6 separate regions of the Homo sapiens genome follow, and regions 1, 2, 3, 5 and 6 are each linked to region 4. The links are contacts of gene promoters, found by promoter capture Hi-C in blood cells and fetal thymus (Javierre and others, 2016). All regions are on one chromosome and are shown on one strand. Each heading gives the region's core, a stretch centred on a gene start or on the middle of the fragment in contact. The rest is flanking DNA. Distances are from core to core; before and after follow the strand shown. Region 1 overlaps PTPRG (protein tyrosine phosphatase receptor type G). Region 2 overlaps PTPRG (protein tyrosine phosphatase receptor type G). Region 3 overlaps PTPRG (protein tyrosine phosphatase receptor type G). Region 4 holds the start of PTPRG (protein tyrosine phosphatase receptor type G). Region 5 overlaps PTPRG (protein tyrosine phosphatase receptor type G). Region 6 overlaps PTPRG (protein tyrosine phosphatase receptor type G).

Region 1 (2,873 bases), core at 222-2,721, 420 kb before region 4:
AGAAGGGCAAATCACCTCCGTGGTATTCTTTCCAAAAATTCACAACCCTGGTATAATCATGGGGAATACATCAGACAAACCCAAATTGGGGAACATTCTATATAATTGACAAACATTCTATATAATTGACAAACACTCCTCAAAAGTGTCAAGGTCATGAGAAAGACTAAAACACTGTCAGAGATCAGAGAAGATTAAGGAGACACAGACAATAAATAGAATGTGGTGCTCTAGATTGAATGGTGGAATCAAAAACAAAAATTAATGGAAAAACTCATGAGCTCTGAGTAAAGTTTGGTGCTCAGTTAATAGTAAACACACCCATGTTGGGTTCCTAGTAGGTCCTTGTCAAAAGGTCATTCTTTTGTGGCTACTCTGACAATGAAATGAAGAAATTATGGAGCAAACTGCATAGAAGCCAAGTAAAATATAAGTTGTGTTAAATAAGTTAAATTTTACTAACCAGGTTTTACTGGATTTACTGGTATGCACTTAGGCCGTGTCTATGGCATGATAGATGAGGGAGATGGGCACTGATTTATGGGTAATACTGGGATGACTGTCATATTCTTTTTGGATAAATGGAGTCTGCAAACACAAAAGACGAAGGAAACAAGAGACTACGGTAAAGAAAATAATCAAGTTCATGGGTGATATTATTTAAGCTTATATAAAAACCTTATATAAAGTTGGAGAAATTCAGTTTTTAAAGCTGTCATTAAGAAAAACATCATTAGCTTAACCTATAGCTCATTTCTGCATTAAAATAATCCACTTCTACCTCCTTAGTGTGCCATTCACAAGTCACTGTATTTTTCTCATTTTGAGATGTTACAATTCAGTAGACTAGCATCAGGAAGACATATTTCCACAGTAGGGAGAATAAATCACACAATTGGAGATTAATTCCAACTGGTCTGTTTAAGGCAGATAGAATTCCTCACATGAAAATAATGGCAAATACTGTAAATCTGGGCTTGAATCTGAGACTTCACTTCATACTCAGTTTCTTTAAGGCAGAGTTAGCCCAAAGAACTTGGTCGACACATATAAATTTTAAATCAATGCTAGTTAATTCTATTCAAACAAATATCATATAAAAATCTGAGAGAAACACCTTAATGTTGCCCTACCATCAGCCCCAGCAATACTACTTGAAAAGTCCAAATAAGGACAAATAAAACTGGTCAACAACAAGAATTTTCTACAATTTAAGCAAACTGTCTCACTTCAGTATAGTTCTCTGTTAATAACTGACCTAAGATAAAAGTTGTATGAGCATAGAAATCATACTTTTGTCTAAAAGCAAGGAATTTCACATACCTATATATGATTCATGTTCCAAACAGTGGTTTCTTTAAATACCTAAGAGGTTCTTTGCTGAAAATAAGCATGTACCTTGAATTTATTTTACCACAATAGATCCAAATAATGGTTCCTATTCACTAATGAAAAGCCATTAAAAATAATGAATTCTGTCTAAATCTAATTAAAAACAAAACTAATATACATGTTATGTGCTGTTTCTAGTCAAATATGCTTATTAATGCCTCTCTCAATAAACTTATATTACAAATATTACCTGAATCCAGGCTTATTACTCTGCATTTTGTTGTCTACTTTTAACCAATAGCAACAATCCAAAAATATGTGTATCATTTTTACCTATTATAATTAATGCTTTTTATCCGAAATCGAATACACAGGTTTAAATTATTCCATGTTTTAATTAAAATCTTTATGGGATTCTGATTACAATTCTTTTGCATTCTCCAGTACTAATAGCTTAATTACTTCTTGTGCATTTATTGTTTGTGTGTACACGAAAAATGGAAAAAGTCTTAAAAGGCATGCATATTACTGCTTGCCACTATTTTTACTTTATTCATATTCAGTTATAAAGCTGCTCAACTTTGTTGATAGAAATATTCTAAATTTTAAACCAGTTAAGAAAATATAAAGTTACTTTGCAAATAATGAAATACACATTTTTTGGTTTTAAATTTAAGGTGTAAAAACTGCAGTACTCCATTTCATATCAATGGTGTGCTTAAAGAAAACTATCAACAACTAACCATAATACCAGAAGTAATATCAGACAATAACACCAGAAATAGAAACTAACTACTTTGTTCATTTTTTAATACCATTATCTGTCTAATTTCCCAGGGTGTCTATTTTAGGACTGGATGTTAAAACTATTTCAGGTAAAATTTCATTCAGTACCAATGCCTAAACTGGAGGTCCCAGACTCTAATCCTGATGGTAAAAAGCTTCTCTGGAGCCTGTTTTACTGTTCTGGAAAAGGAGGGTATTAAAAAGAGTAAAGATGGCAATAATGGCTACCTTTTAGTTCTGAGCCACAGACCTCTAGGCTGAGTAAAGGCTCAAAAGGAGTTGACTGATTAGTGATGCCCGCATGGGTGTATAATATGACATTATTAGAGTGCAAACCATGAATATGCATGCCATCCACACACTGCAAGATTCTGAAGGTCCTTTAAAGACTTAAAAGTCTTTGACCTATGCATGTTTAGGTGTATCTGGGATTTAAAAGTTATATCTTTCAAGTTGAATCCACCCCACATCCAAACATTCATTAAAAATTTCTACCAATAATTGGGATCATTTATTCACCCCAAACCTAACTAGGCTGACTTAAAGTTGTACCAGCTTTATTCCTGCTTCTCATAGATACAACAGGAAACTGGCTTCAACAAGTATCTGAGATACTAACAAAGTTATCACAATTCTTACTAGCCAATGCCAAACATCTTAAGTGTTTATAAAATGGAGATGAGTTCGTTCCAGACCTGAAGTTTTCAACCTTAAAGTTAGGTACACCCCCAAATAGTCAACATTTTGACTAATAT
Region 2 (2,873 bases), core at 215-2,714, 390 kb before region 4:
CTTTAACAGGGAACCATGCATACATTCAAACCTACATTCAAACCTCAGTAAGGAACCAGTATGTTTGGTGGAGGCGGGAAGTTGGGCAGGGAAGGGATTTAGGTGCTGAAGTCAGCAAGTAACATGAAACCAAGCAGGGCATCGTCAAAATTACTCTCAAGAAATCTCTAGGAAAACAAACTGGAAGACCAATGAGTCTGTCCTCTCCCCAGATTTCCAATCCAACACTCTTCATCCAAGGGAGTACTACATATTTGCAGCTGGTTTGCAACTTAGTCTTATGTAGGAAGTAGATGTATCCTTAAATTCAGAATCATGTGACAAAGTCACTATAGGAACAGGTCAAAGCATCTGAAGAGAGCAGCAGATTGTACAGCAGCAGAAAATACACTCCCTTGTATTTTCTCTGGAGCATTTGTGCTTTAGAGTAGAACTTCTTACTCTACATACACAGAAGGGTTTTTGTTTCCTTCCCCTGGCCCTCACAGAGTGTAGTTTAGTATGACTGACGTGCTGAAAGAATGGAAGGTGCATCTCCATCACCCTTCTACATTGGAGAAGAAAATGCAGCAGTGAGCCTTGGGGCTAGAAATTATGTTAATTAGACAAGCAGCAGGAAAGGAACCCAGCCTGTGGGAAGAGTCTCCCCTCCCCATAGAACCACCACAACAATCACATTTATTACACTGCTTAATTGCCATTGCAATATACAACCTTAATTTACTAGGGAGCCCGTAGGTAACCTTTAGAAGTGCTGCCCGGCATCCAGAAGTGCTCACGTTCCTAGAGGCACTGATACTAGGGGACCTGCCTAGGTTTTTAAATACCAAGGGACAAAGTCAATAATGGCGAAATTGACCAGCAATTCCTTTTTTCTAACCATTCCTTTTGCCTGCGTGCCTGTGTCAGTATCTAGTTTCTCTCTATTTTTGCCCCTTTCAAGCAATTCTTCATTGTCAGTAGCAGAGCAAGGGTGGGTGGGAGAAGAGTAAGGCTCTGACTTAGCTGGGGGCAAGAAAAGCCTCCTGAAGGAAGTGATTAAAGCTAAGCTTCTGAAACAGGAGCTAGAATTCAACCAGGTGAAGCAGGTTGGGAGGAGGGAAAGCGTTTCTGAGTAGAGACAGCAGTAGGTGTAGGGAAAATTGTGGGCTTGACCTGGGGCACGGTAAGTAGAAAGGGCGAGAAATTAAGAAAAGTCATTGCTGGATCCTAGGATGTATCCTGAGACCTATTGGAAGCCACAAAAATGGTCCCAGAATAGTTACTGACACAGGAGTGATACATTCATATTCCCATTTTTAAAGGTTCCTCCAGATTTTCTGTGTAGACAACAGTGGGTCACAAGAGGGTAAACTTGAAGCGATGTTCTACAGCTTCCACAGAAGGCAAGAGATTACTATTTAGTGGTGGCAGTGAGTAGGGGAGAAAATATGGATTCAAGTGACACTGATAGGAGCTGGCTGATGATTAATTGTAGACGGAGGAAGACAGACATCCCAGGTTTGAGGCTAGGGCAAATGGATTATGTTTCTGCCACTCCTGGGGACAGAAAGGACTGAATGAGGAACAGGTTTAAAGGTAAGGAAGCAGAAATGGGCAGAGATACTGAACTTGGTTTTAAGGTGTCCTGAGAACTCCGGCGTCAAGGAGGAAGTAGGTGATAAGGGCTTTAATCTCAAAAGGGAGATTTCAGCCAGAAATATCAATTTGAGCATGCTCTTGGAATAGATGGTAATTTTAGCCATTATGAAGTTGCCTGGGGAGACCGTGTACAGAGTGAGAAGAGAAGGGGCCTGCAGATAGATCCTTAGAGGAATTCCAACAGTTAATGAATTTAATGAATGACAGTGGTTCAACCCCTTTATCATTCAAAGCTTTGGTGTGGATAAAATAATGGCTTGTCACTCCCAGCTCACAAACCTGTAAAGAGTTCCCTAACACTGCTTAAAGCAAAATTGCCCCCAAGAACTTCAAAATCCTGGCTTACAGCACAGGCACTAAAGTGGTCCTAACAGTCAGTGGTGGCTCCCAGGGCCCCAGGTTTGCTAAACATGCACTGCCTCCACATATGAGGTCTGAGGAAGACTGGGATTCTGATACTGTCTTTTTTTTTTTTTTTTTTTTTTTCTGAGGTGGAGTGTCGATCTGTCGCCAGGCTGCAGTGCTGTGGCGTGATCTCAGCTCACTGCAACCTCCGACTCCCTGGTTCAAGTGATTCTCCTGCCTCAGCCTCCCAAGTCGCTGAGATTACAGGCACGCACCACCACACCCAGCTAATTTTTGTATTTTTAGTAAAGACAGGGTTTCCCCATGTTGGCCAGGATGGTCTTGATCTCCTGACCTCGTGATCTGCCCGCCTCGGCCTCCCAAAGTGCTGGGATTACAGGCGTGAGCCACCACGCCAGGCCGATTCTATCATTTTTAAAATTTGGGTTTGCGTTACTTGCTAATACCAGTCAGAAAAGAGCACTTCACAGAATCAAGTAACCCCATCAGCAACAGAGCACAGCCTCTCTGTACTTTGTAAAACAGTAGAAGTCAATTGTTGCCAAGAAGAAACCCTTGCACATTCCCCAAAAAACACTCTGTGTAGACTATCTCAGAACCAGACACGGAAACAAGCGCTGGAAATACACAGGAAATTAGGGGAGTCCTCTGCCCTCAAGGAGACTAGAGAGAGCAGATTGGGAGCCATCTTCCCACGAAATAATCCAGAACTAAATGTGTAAAGAATTCTTAGAACCATACAAAGAAGAATACTTCTTTAAAAGGTTGCCTGAACTATCTACAATATTGAGTCAAAGAAAATCTTTCTACAAAGGGCACCAAAGTATAGTCTACCAGAGGTCAAAGAAACACAAATTTCAAGCAAA
Region 3 (2,994 bases), core at 186-2,685, 290 kb before region 4:
AACAGGCACAGACCTTAGGAGAACAAACAAAATGGGGTACATAGTTGCAGGAAGGAGAAACAGAGTAAATAGAGAAGACAGAGGAATCAATTTTTTGCCAGGTACTTTACCTGTCTTCCCTTATTAATTTCTCACAGCCTATAGATGAGAATAGGTGAAATCAGACCTATTTTACAGATAAGAAACCGAGGCTCAATGTTTTTATAATTATGGTGAAAACTCAGGGCACTGGTTTAAAGTGAAACCATCCCACCTCAAAGTGGCCTAAACAAAAGAAAACCAAAGGGCAAGGAGGTTATTGTCTCACGTAACTATTCAGGGGGTACATCTGTTGTGCATGTGTGTAGTACTGCTACCTTCTAGCAGCACAGGGCTGCTGTTCTCTCAAGAGATCTCATTCTCTTGCTGTCAACTCAGTTCTGCATTCCAGTGCTGGCTGCACTCTCAAACAGGCCTTTCTCTTTTGAATGGCCACCGGTTCCTCTGAGCTTATGTTCTGAAAAGCACAGAAGCCTCAGCACAGGAAGGACTTTGATGTGGCCATTTGAAGTAAAGCACAGGAGACTTTCATTAGATGGCCATGGCCACATATTCATCTCCAATCCAATCAAAGCAATCTTAACAACCTAAATGACCAGACCTGGGTCATGTGTCCATTCCTAGAGCCCAGAGAAGGAAAACAGCTCACCCCAGAACACATCAACTTGGAGGAGAAAACAAAGGGGTCACAGTGAATTCCCCAAAAGGAATATTTTATGTAAAGACTTTCCTAGCACTCTGCATCTTAGTTGTCATATGCTGTGTAACTAAATCCCCCAAAACTCACTAAGTTAGAACATCAATAAACATTTATTATCTGTCACCATCTCTATAGGTCAGGAATGTAGCAATGGCTTAGCTGTGCAGTTCTGAAACAAGTTTTCTAAATGAGATTGCAGTCAAGATGTCAGCTGGGTCAGCAGTTATCTGAGGCTTAACATGGACTGGAGGATCCATTTCCTAAGTGGTTCAATCACATGGCCAGCAAAATGGTACCAGCTGTTGGTGGAGCCTCAGTTCTTCCCCAGCGTTCTAATGATATTGGAGTGAGCTTGTTCCAAAGGAAACAATCAATAGTAAGCCCAAAGGCAGAAGCCGCAATTCCTTTACGGCCTGGTCTTAAGAAGTCACACAGTGTCACCTCTGCCATCGTCAACTGATCACACAAACCAGCTCTCTTTGTTTAACAAGACTAAAAAAGGGTGTGAATACCTGGAAGTGGGGATTATGGGGGCCATTCTGAACCTCGCACACACCTTCTCTAAAATTTCCATTTTCTCAAACCCCCCTTCCCTGCTTTAATGTTTTCTATTTAGAACTTATCATCATACAACATACTTCTTACTCTTTGTCTGTTTCCCACAGTAGAACGTAAGCTCCGCAAGGACAAGCATGTTTGTATGCTTTGGTCACTATCCTATCCCCTGCATGTAACACAACAGCTGTTACAAAGAAATCATTCAATAAATGGAATTTAGATGAACAGATGCAAAGAGGAAGGGACATGGATGTCAGGTAGGCAGTGGCAATCAATGTCTACTTTACTCATAAAGGTGAGGTCTTTGAGACGTCCAGCTTTTAGGACCTTTGCAAGTCCATGCATGTATGTCCATACGCGTTACTGAGATAACATTTCTAAAATAGGCCCCTGGAAACAAGAATAAATCAGGCAATTTTCATAAGGCAAACTGTTGCATGGTGCTTTCACACATGGCCCTCAAAGCTCAGGATCTCCATAGCCACCGTGAACTTGACAAAGACATAGGCACCATAATACAAAGACCACAAAGTAACCTAGAAATACAGAGTCTCCAATTCTATCTTGATTCTGCCTCTAAACCAAAGACTCATCAATTTAACTCTCTGGGACTCAGCTTCCATGTTCGTAAGAAACACAATATTTATCAGTAAGACCTCATCCCAATTATAACGTCACTGAAGCTGGATGCTAACAGTATATGTCCATGGTTTTTAAAAAACTCTTCAGGTAAGAAAATCCGAAGTATGCAAGTAGGTTTGTCTAAACATAGATCTGTGTCTTACTGTAAAATTCCATTTGTGAATTGTTATTCCAAGTACTGGACCCACCTTATAATCACTGTATAACATGCTTGAAATATAATTGTCATGACATATTCTCCAGAAAGGTCAAAATAATCCTTATTACAACTTTATAACTGACCATAAAAAGAGAAAGTCAGACCCCATCCTTCTTGGAAAGCACAGCAAACAAACAAAAATGTCTCCTTTTCAAAGATTATGTTTAGTGAAGGACAGACGCAAAGAGAGAGAAAAGTAGTATCAGCTAATACTGTATCCAAACACCTTAAAAAGAAATTAACAAAAATGGGTTTATTAAACTCCCTAAAATCTAGTTCCAAAAGAACTCAAAATATTTTACCATCAACCAAAAATACAGCCCCAATTGTATCAACATTGTATTAGTTATCTATTGCTGCATAAGAGATTACCTCAAAATCTAGTGGCCTAAAACCACTAATATTAACCTCATCACAGTTTCTGAGGGTCAGCCAATCTAGATAGCTATAATCATAAGACACTGGAAAATTACGTGACTCCAATTTAAAATGGCTGTTTAACATGAAAACTACTTTTTGAACTACCCCTTCTGATTTTTCACCTCCACAATTATGCTACTGAAGGCAAAGAGAAGAAACTGATTGTAGCAGCTGTACTAGAACCTCAATCAGAATATGTCTCTCTCATTACCAATAAGTAACAACAAACCCATCAAGAAAAGTCTAATAATTCCAAGACTCCTCATGACAATTCTCAGGCATTTTAAAATTTAAATGTGCTTTAAATGTTAAGTGTACTTCACCCTAATCTAATTCTATAAAAATAGATACCTGATTCAAACAACCCATTTTTCCACCATGCAAATAAATGAATATTAGATGTGAAAAGCACATTTGGAAAATGTTAGGTACGTTT
Region 4 (2,768 bases), core at 264-2,763:
AAGGGCCACGGGCCGGGGCTAGGGGAGACACGGATCTCTCCGAAACCGCCTGCGCCCTGCCGTCTCACTGCGCCCAAGGAGGCTGCCTCACGCCGGCACCGAAGTGCTGCCCGCGCCCCAGCCCCCAGAGAGAGGGAGGACGCCCCCGACCCAGAACGCAGGCTGCTCCCCACACATCCTCAGTCCTCCGCAGCCAGCCTCCGACTTCCATTCCCCGAAACCTAGCCCTCCCAAAGGGATGGAGAACAGCAAAGCAAACCCCCACCTTCTGAGTTCCTTCAATACCCGCCAGAGCGAGGGGGCTCATCCCGGGCCCCCCAAACCCACAGAAGCATCCTTTCCATGGCCTCAGTCTCCCCAACCGCCCCACAACTCGAGTTCTCCCGATCGGCGACGAGTCAGCAAAGCAAGTCCCCCTTTCTCCCGATTCCAGCTCCCCAGGACCCCCAAAAGGGAGCGGGAGCAGACCCCCGCGTCCCCCAGCCCCCTCCCCGGCCAGCCCCTGCCTCCACCTTCCTCGACCACTAGCCTGCCTCCCTAAACATCATCCAAGCCAGCGGAGCAATCCTTTTCTCCTATCCGGGCGCCGGGCCACCCTCCACCCTCTCCAGGGTCTCCCGGACGGGCGCCGGAGCTCCGCGCCCAGGCGACAACTCCGCATCCCCAACGCGCGCCGGCCGGGGCCGCATCCCCTCGGCGGCCGGCACTCACCGGGGAAGCACACGACATAATGGAGCACGGAACTGGTGATTTTCAGGAACAAAATCCACCAACACGGTTCCAGTAACCTCCGCATGTCCGAAAACGCACATCGAAAAGAGGAAAGCAGGGAGGTAAACTTGTTGAATAAGTTCTTGCCTCCGTGCGAGCCTCCGCTAAGCCGGGGCGCTTCCCCGGCTCGCCCGCTCCACGGGCCCCCCGCGCTCGGCGGCCCGAGTCCCCTTGGAATCCGGGAAGCCGCCGAGCGCCCCCCGGAAAATCTCAAAAAGTGACCGGGAACGCAGAGCCACGCTGGGGACGATCCTCTCGGCGGAGAAAGGCTGCTTTCCGTTTAAAAAGGAGAGAGCCGATCGGGCAGGGCGCGGAGTCGGCGGCCGGCGGCGATGCCCCGGGCCTGGGGCAGGCAGGGACCGCGGGCGGCGGCGGCGAGCAGCCGAGGATCCCCAACTTGAGTCGGCAGCGCAGCACAGCCCGAGAGCCGGCGGGCGGCGGCGGGGCTGAGCGCGGCGCGGCGTCTCCGGGCTTCAGGCAGGCAGCTCCTTCCAGGGCCCCGGGAAGGAAGGAGGCATGTTTGCGAGAGGGGAAGGGGAGGGGAGAGGCAGGGGGAGCGGAGAGCCCCCCAAAATAGAAACGGCCGGAGGAAACGGAGGAAAACACAAAGGATCTCAGAGGGGCGCTGGGGCGAGGGCGCCTTCAGTCCATGCTCCTGAAAGTTGTGGCTCCGGCGCAGGCTGGGAAGGAACGAAGAGCGCGGGGCTGGAAACTGGCCATGCCTCCATACAGGAAGTAACATGTGAGCATGGATCCTGGCAGAGACTTTAAAGCCGGCGAGCGAAGGAGCGAGCGAACAGGGGGCGCGCGGTGGCGGCGGGGGCGCGCAGCCCGGGCCAGCTGGCGGCGGGCGCGCGCTCTCCGCGTTCTTAAAGCAGCCGCGCTTGGCTCCCGCCTTGCGCTGGGTCCCTCGGCTCTGCTCTCTCCGCGCGGCCTCTACTGGGACAGTTTGGGGACTGGGGGCGATTGTAGCCCGTGCGCGGAGAGAGGAGGGAGGCTGCCTTCTGGGGCCGGCTTGTTTTTTGCTGGATTCCCGTTGTTCGAGCTCTTAAAAGACGCCGCACGGTGCTCGGGTTTGGCGAGATCCTCCGCGCAGCTCGCGGATCCCGGACTTGAGGGGCCCCTCGCCCTGGCGAGGGGAAAGGGGGAGGGCGGACAGCTGCCTTTTTAAAGCGATGGGGTTTTCTGTTCGGCTTCACTGCCCTGGCATTTGCAGCGGTGAGGCTCACCGTCTGCGGCTCCTGTTCGCGCCTCCAACACAGCGCATTCCCCCGCCGGGAAACAAAGCCGAGCGGCCTTTGCACTCCGGCTACATTGAGATTTAATTTTTTTTTTTTTTCTTTTTCGGGCTTTCATTGGCCCAGTCCAAGGCTGGGGAAAGTGGGGGAGGGGAGGAATGTCGATCCCAGGATTGCGAAATCTAGCCCTTCCGAGCCCCGCATCCCCTTTCCCGGCGCCACGATGGATCGGTGGCGGAGTTTCCCCAACTCGCAGCTTCTCTGGAGAAGGTTCCCGCACCCCGGTTTGGCCGCGGGGAGGGCGCAGGAAGTGCGCCTCTTACACCCTGCAGGGTGAAAGCAGCGCCGCGGGGCCGGACTGATTTCCTGGCAGCTACCCGGGGAGCGGCTGCTTCTTTAGCAATCGGGGAGAGGCGTCCGGGGGAAATGGGAGGACTAGGCTTATCTGTAATGAGTTTTGTCCCTTGGCTCTCGGTAAGAAGATCTTTATCGCTTAGACTTCTAAGCGCCCTATTTTACATTCTTAACGCTGGGGCTAAAAGTGGGGGAGGCGGGCTTTCGAGTAAATGTGTAACTGAGCCAAGGTAATTAGCCGTTTGACATTTTTTGCCTAATTTTTCTGCCTGTGTTTCAAAGCGATCTTGACGTGGGATTGTTTTGTTTTGTTTTGAGACGGAGTCTCGCTCCGTCGCCCAGGCTGGAGTACAGTGGCTCGATTTCGGCTCACTACAACCTTCGCCTCCCGGGTTCGGGCGATTC
Region 5 (2,911 bases), core at 14-2,513, 280 kb before region 4:
CAATAATTCTGAGCACCTTCACCACTTGTCCTAGAAACCAGCTTTTAGGCCCAGTTCCCTCCCATTCACCATCTGAAATCTCAGGGCAGTTGTTTAACCATCCCGGTGTTGTGAACTTAATTGTGCCTCCCCTGCAACATTCATATGTTGAAGCCCTCACAGGGCTGTATTTGGAGACAGGGTTTTTAAAGGGGTGAATAAGGTTAAATGTGGGCAAAAGTGTCGGGGGCCTGATCCATTAAGGCTGATGTCCCTGTAAGAGGAAGAAGAAAGACAGGGAAGGCCATGTGAAGACACACAGAGAAGGTGGCCATCTCCAAACCAAGGGGAGAGGCCTCAGAAGAAAGCAAACTTGCAATACACTGATATTTGACTGGCAGCCTCCTGCACTGTAAGAAAGCAAATTTCTGTTAAGTCACCCAGTTTGTGGTGTTATAGCTGCCCTAATGGACTAATACATCTGGTTTCAATGTCTTCACTTATTTTCAATAATCCCTCAAAATTGATCAGTGAAAGCACCCTCAAGTGAAAAATATGGTACATGTGTACGTGTACAGACATTCCTCATCCCCTTCCTTCACCTCAAACACAAAAATCCAGGCTAAAACCTTGCTATTGTTCAATCAATGCTGCTGATCCGCTCTTGTCTATGACGTACTATTCAGGCTGCACCTCCGTATTCAGCCTTTAATAGTCTAGTACCCCCTGCATGCCGAACATTCAGCAAGACATGGGCAAACAGGAGCCCTGCTTGTGACTCAACTTCCAGTTACTTTACTGTATCCCACATTTTAGGAGATATTACTGGGTAACTGTCAAAAGGTCAAGATCTAAAGATGAAAAAGCTGGATTCAGGTTGGGTGCGGTGGCTCACACCTGTGAATCCCAGCACTTTGGGTGGCTGTGGCAGGCAGATCACTTGAGGTCAGGAGTTCGAGACCAGCCTGGCCAACATGGCAAAACACTGTCTCTACTAAAAATACAAAAATTAACCAGGTCCAGTGGTTCACACCTATAATCCCAACACTTTGGGAGGCCAAGACAGGCGGATCACCTGAGGTCAGGAGTACAAGACCAGAGTGGCCAATATGATAAAACCCATCTTTACAAAAATACAAAAATTGGCCGGGCATGATGATGGGTGCCTACCTGTAATCCCAGCTACTCTGGGGGGTGAGACAGGAGAATCGCTTTAACCCAGGAGGTGAAGGCTGCAGTAAGCCGAGATTGTGCCATTGCACTCCAGCCTGGGCGACTGAGCAAGACTCCATCTCAAAAGAAAAAAAAAAAATCAGCCAGGCCTGGTGGCGTGTGCCTGTAGTCCCAGCTACTAGGGAGGCTGACGCAGGAGAACTGCTTGAACCCGGGAGGCAGAGGTTGCAGTGAGCCGAGATTGTGCCATTGCACTCCAGCCTGGGTGACAGACAGAGACTCCGTCTGAAAAAAACAAATAAAAAAACAAAAAACAACAACAACAACAAAAAAACTGGTTTCAAACAGAACTTCACCCATTTACAAACTGCATCATCTTCAGCAAGTTATTAAAACTTACTGCACCTCTATTTCCTCAACTACAAAGTGATGGCAATAGATATTATTATCTGATATTCCTAGTTCAGGCCTTGATGTCAATAATGTCTGAGAGGCATTATGCAAAGTACCCGGAAGGTAGTAAGAGCATAGTAAATAGTAGCTGCTATATTTTATTATCACTATCCCTAAGTAAAGCTGGCCTCCAGGAGACAGGAAAGGCTAGTGTCTTGTTTGGAACTGAGCCTACCATCTTTGTAGATCAACACCAGGCCTCAAAATGTTACAACTTTAAACTGCATTACTTCAACCACTTTCAAGCACTTACTATGTACTACACACTCAGAAAACAATGAGGAAGGTGAGGGGTACATGAATCAGAGAGGTCAGAGGGTAGTGGATGAACAGAAAAGGGCTATGTTCTATAACAAAGGCCTAAACAAAGAACAATGGTTTGGAAAGAGAAGAGACAAGGAAGGTAAAGACTTACCAGTGATTCCTACACATAGCTGTAAGAACAAAGAGCAGGCCTACAAATATCCAAAGAGCCATTAATCTGCAGTGGGGTTCAGGTGTGTGTGTGTGTATATATATATATATTTTTTTTTTTGGTGGGGGGGGGCGCGGGGGGTGAGACGGAGATTTACTCTTGTTGCCCAGGCTGGAGTGCAATGGCGCGATCTTAGCTCACCGCATCCTCCACCTCCCAGCTTCAAGCAATTCTCCTGCCTTAGCCTCCCAAGTAGCTGGAATTACAGGCATGTGCCACCATGCCTGGCTAATTTTGCATTTTTAACAGAGATGGGGTTTCACCATGTTGCCCAGGCTGATCTCGAACTCCTGACCTCTCAGGTGATCCACCCACCTCGGCCTCCCAAAGTGCTGGGATTACAGGTGTGAGCCACTGTGCCCGGCCCACGTGTGTATATTTTAACATATGCCCAAAGTGATCCTGATAAAAAGGTTGGTTTAAGAACCACTGATGTGACACTTCAGACTACCAACAAGGCCAGGCCATTAAGGACTTAAATAGCAGGAACGGGCTGGGCGTGGTGGTTCATGCCTATAATCCCAGCACTTTGGGAGGCTGAGGTGGCTGGATCACAAGGTCAAGAGTTCGAGCCCAGCCTGGCCAACATGGTGAAATCCCATCTCTACTAGGAATACAAAAATTAGCCAGGTGTGGTGGCGTGTGCCTGTAATCCCAGCTACTCAGGAGGCTGAGGCAGGAGAATCGCTTGAATCCAGGAGGCAGAGGTTGCAGTGAGCTGAGATCGCACCACTGCACTCCAGCCTGGGGAAGGGGGGAGTAGGAATGACATGATCCCACTGAATAGGAAATTGACTTCCACATTTACAAAGGAGGCTGGAGCAGGAGAAA
Region 6 (2,700 bases), core at 129-2,628, 370 kb before region 4:
TGACTATTTTATAGATGAGAAAACTGAGTCTTACAGTGGTTTGTTATTTGTTCACAACATATTTAATGAGTGCCCATCAGGTACCCAGTACAATTAATAGTTGAGAGCAAAAAAGAATAAAAAAGATCTCTGCCATCACAGATCAGCACTCTTACTGCAGAGGGGACAAAATCGTATCTCAGCATCATTTTGATTCACCACCAGGTTTTTAGGATTTTGTTACTACTTTTTAACCTGAAGTTGAAAAGAGAAATGTACCTTTCCACATAGACCCCAGCTCCACTATTTCCTACTGTCTTTTACCTTTTTGTTTTGCATATTTATGCTTTCTGAGGAACTCCAACAGACATTTGCTTTGGGGACCCCAATCACAGGATCGCAGCAGAGGCTGTGCTCAGTTTTGCTTGTCTGACCACAAATTCTCAGCCATATGGGTTTCAGACAGCCAATTTAACCATTTTGGACTTTTTAGCTAAAAGTGAAGTAGCAAGTGGGGGGTTTCATTCATTTATTCTAGCCCCAGTCTTGGTCCAGATTAGTCTTCCTCAAGGCTCTGCGGCACTGCCTGCCTCCCATGAAATACTGAGACAAGGAGAACACGAGAATGCTGCGCCTGAAAAACCCATAAGGGAAAGCCAATCAAGATCAAAGCAACTGTGAGAGAAACTGAATTGTTTCTGACCAAGATTTTGGTGGTGGTGGTTACAAGTTTTGAGTCAAAAGACATGGGTTCAAAACCCACCTTTTGCCCTTACTGTGCAATTCTGCCAAGTGTCATGACCTCTCTGGGCTTCCATGCCCTCAGCTGTGAAGTGAGAATATAATGCACTACAATGCTAGCTTGAAGACTTGCTGTGATAATGCAAATGAAAGCATGAAAACAGCGCCTTGCACACAGTAAGAACTCAGCAAGTGACCGTATTAGAGGTTTTTATATTCGACCCTTTTAAAGGCTAGTGTCAAAGGTACTTGGTCAGCTCATGTGGGGAAGCTTATAATATATTTAAGTATTCATAGTCTCCTACATGTTCCCCCTGGCTAAGACGCCTGAGGCTGCTAGAAATAATCACACTATTTGTGATCCTATGTTTATGCAACAGAAATGAAATGGAATTTTATGGTCTGTTGTGTTCAACACCGATGCCCACATTGGGATAATTCCATGCAGTGCTGCATTACAAGAATCTATGTAATATCCAATCCAAAGATGCAGCTCTCAGGTCACAAAGCTTTACCAAACCATTGGCTTCAGAAAGGAGCTAGTTGGTCCCACACCTGCAGACCCCATCTGACACACACTTAGTGGTAGATATATAATTGACCTGGAGAGTAAATCTAAGCTAATTCATTTTTTAAAAGCAAACAGATTTTGGCAGGGGAAAATATTGTTAGCAAAAAACATGTTTTAAATAGTAAAAAAATAAAAAATGAAAATACAAATGATGAATGTCATGAGTACAATAAAGGTTGACCATTCCTAAGAAAGGAAGACAACATAGAAGAGCAATGTTTCAACCAGAAGCTTCAAAAACTTTAGGACCAAAGGTCTGGCTTTGGAGCTAAGAACAGAAACACGATTTTGTTATTAAACATGAGAGTTTGTCATAACATCCACTCAACAAATAACATGGATCAGACAATGAAAAATGATAATATGGTCATCATCCTTGAATGAATCTCCTGGTGTTTTTGTTTTTGTTTTTGTTTTGAGGGGAATGGAGGTGGTTGGATATTCTTTGAAGCCACCAGAAAGTAAACAACATAGACTCAGTTGTGCGTTTGATCATGTTAGATCATAAACTTAAATTAGTAAAGTCAAGGTTAGAAGAGGGTGGGAAGGCAGCTCTAAGAGGACACGGGGTCTTGACTTGTGTAAGAGCAGTAACCCATTTGGGCCCGGGACACACAGTCCCTCGCCAGCAGATCCAGTGAGGTTAGCTTAGCTCCGGAGGCAGCACGGGTAACGTGGCCATGACTTAGTAAGGGAAGAATCAAAAAAGACTGTGGACATACCACTACCACACATGAAACAGAAGAGCAGTGTGTCTGTGCCAACATTATTCTATTTACCAAATATCATCAAGCAGGATTCCAGAAAAACGGCAGCAAAGTAACTTGGAGTTAGCCACAACAAGTAATAAACCTTTAAGCAGAACTGTTGAGGGTGAAAATGCGCTCAACATCGCAAAACCTTCCAGAGCCTTCCAGGCACAGGTAGCACAGAACAAGAATGCAAATCAGAACAGAGCAAAGTGGCCCAGCAGTGAGTGCTGCAGAAGCAAAATGAGCAAAAGCAAACAGAGAAGATCAGGTTGGGGAGGCTGCAGGAACCACAGCACATGGCCCACGGGCAGGAAGGAGCTTTGGGCCCTTCTAAGCAATGAATTAGGCGCTGCACTCTGTCACCCAGGCTGGACTGCAGTGGCGTGATCTCAGCTCACTGCAACCTCTGCCTCCCAGGTTCAAGTGATTCTTCTGCTTCCCGAGTAGCTGGGACTACAGGTGCGCCACCATGCCCGGCTAATTTCTGTATTTTGTATTTTTTAGTAGAGATGGGGTTTCACCATATTGGCCAGGCTGGTCTCGAACTCCTGACCTCGTGATGATCCACCGGCCTCGGCCTCCCAAAGTGCTAGGATTACAAGCATGAGCCACTGCGCCTGGCCGCACTGCCTTCTTTTACGTGCTCTCCTTTACAGT

The links. Contacts are between HindIII fragments. The CHiCAGO score rates a contact against its expected background, and 5 or more counts as called.
Region 1: a contact is called between a fragment that was not itself captured here and the fragment with the promoter of PTPRG in region 4, in 1 of 17 cell types (endothelial precursors). The highest score is 5.4, in endothelial precursors.
Region 2: a fragment that was not itself captured here is called in contact with the fragment with the promoter of PTPRG in region 4 in 1 of 17 cell types (endothelial precursors); the score reaches 5.2 in endothelial precursors.
Region 3: a contact is called between a fragment that was not itself captured here and the fragment with the promoter of PTPRG in region 4, in 1 of 17 cell types (endothelial precursors). The highest score is 9.8, in endothelial precursors.
Region 5: a contact is called between a fragment that was not itself captured here and the fragment with the promoter of PTPRG in region 4, in 1 of 17 cell types (endothelial precursors). The highest score is 6.3, in endothelial precursors.
Region 6: a fragment that was not itself captured here is called in contact with the fragment with the promoter of PTPRG in region 4 in 1 of 17 cell types (endothelial precursors); the score reaches 5.8 in endothelial precursors.

Annotation. Positions count from the first base shown.
Region 1 is chr3:61,982,122-61,984,994 of GRCh38, reverse strand. All of the region lies in intron 2 of PTPRG (protein tyrosine phosphatase receptor type G), which reads right to left. Among named protein-coding and RNA genes, the nearest start is that of PTPRG-AS1, 340 kb to the left of the region's middle. The HindIII fragment of the contact is 1,608 bases long and covers 668-2,275 here.
Region 2 is chr3:61,951,373-61,954,245 of GRCh38, reverse strand. All of the region lies in intron 2 of PTPRG (protein tyrosine phosphatase receptor type G), which reads right to left. Among named protein-coding and RNA genes, the nearest start is that of PTPRG-AS1, 370 kb to the left of the region's middle. The HindIII fragment of the contact is 825 bases long and covers 1,052-1,876 here.
Region 3 is chr3:61,851,520-61,854,513 of GRCh38, reverse strand. All of the region lies in intron 2 of PTPRG (protein tyrosine phosphatase receptor type G), which reads right to left. Among named protein-coding and RNA genes, the nearest start is that of PTPRG, 290 kb to the right of the region's middle. The HindIII fragment of the contact is 4,297 bases long and covers 1-2,994 here.
Region 4 is chr3:61,560,316-61,563,083 of GRCh38, reverse strand. It overlaps PTPRG (protein tyrosine phosphatase receptor type G), which reads right to left and starts at 1,513. Exons shown (of 30, transcript NM_002841.4): 1 at 712-1,513. The coding sequence starts at 796. RefSeq lists an enhancer at 2,736-2,768. The HindIII fragment of the contact is 7,216 bases long and covers 1-2,768 here.
Region 5 is chr3:61,835,292-61,838,202 of GRCh38, reverse strand. The region is part of intron 2 of PTPRG (protein tyrosine phosphatase receptor type G); the gene reads right to left. Among named protein-coding and RNA genes, the nearest start is that of PTPRG, 280 kb to the right of the region's middle. The HindIII fragment of the contact is 3,948 bases long and covers 1-2,911 here.
Region 6 is chr3:61,930,744-61,933,443 of GRCh38, reverse strand. All of the region lies in intron 2 of PTPRG (protein tyrosine phosphatase receptor type G), which reads right to left. Among named protein-coding and RNA genes, the nearest start is that of PTPRG, 370 kb to the right of the region's middle. The HindIII fragment of the contact is 293 bases long and covers 1,232-1,524 here.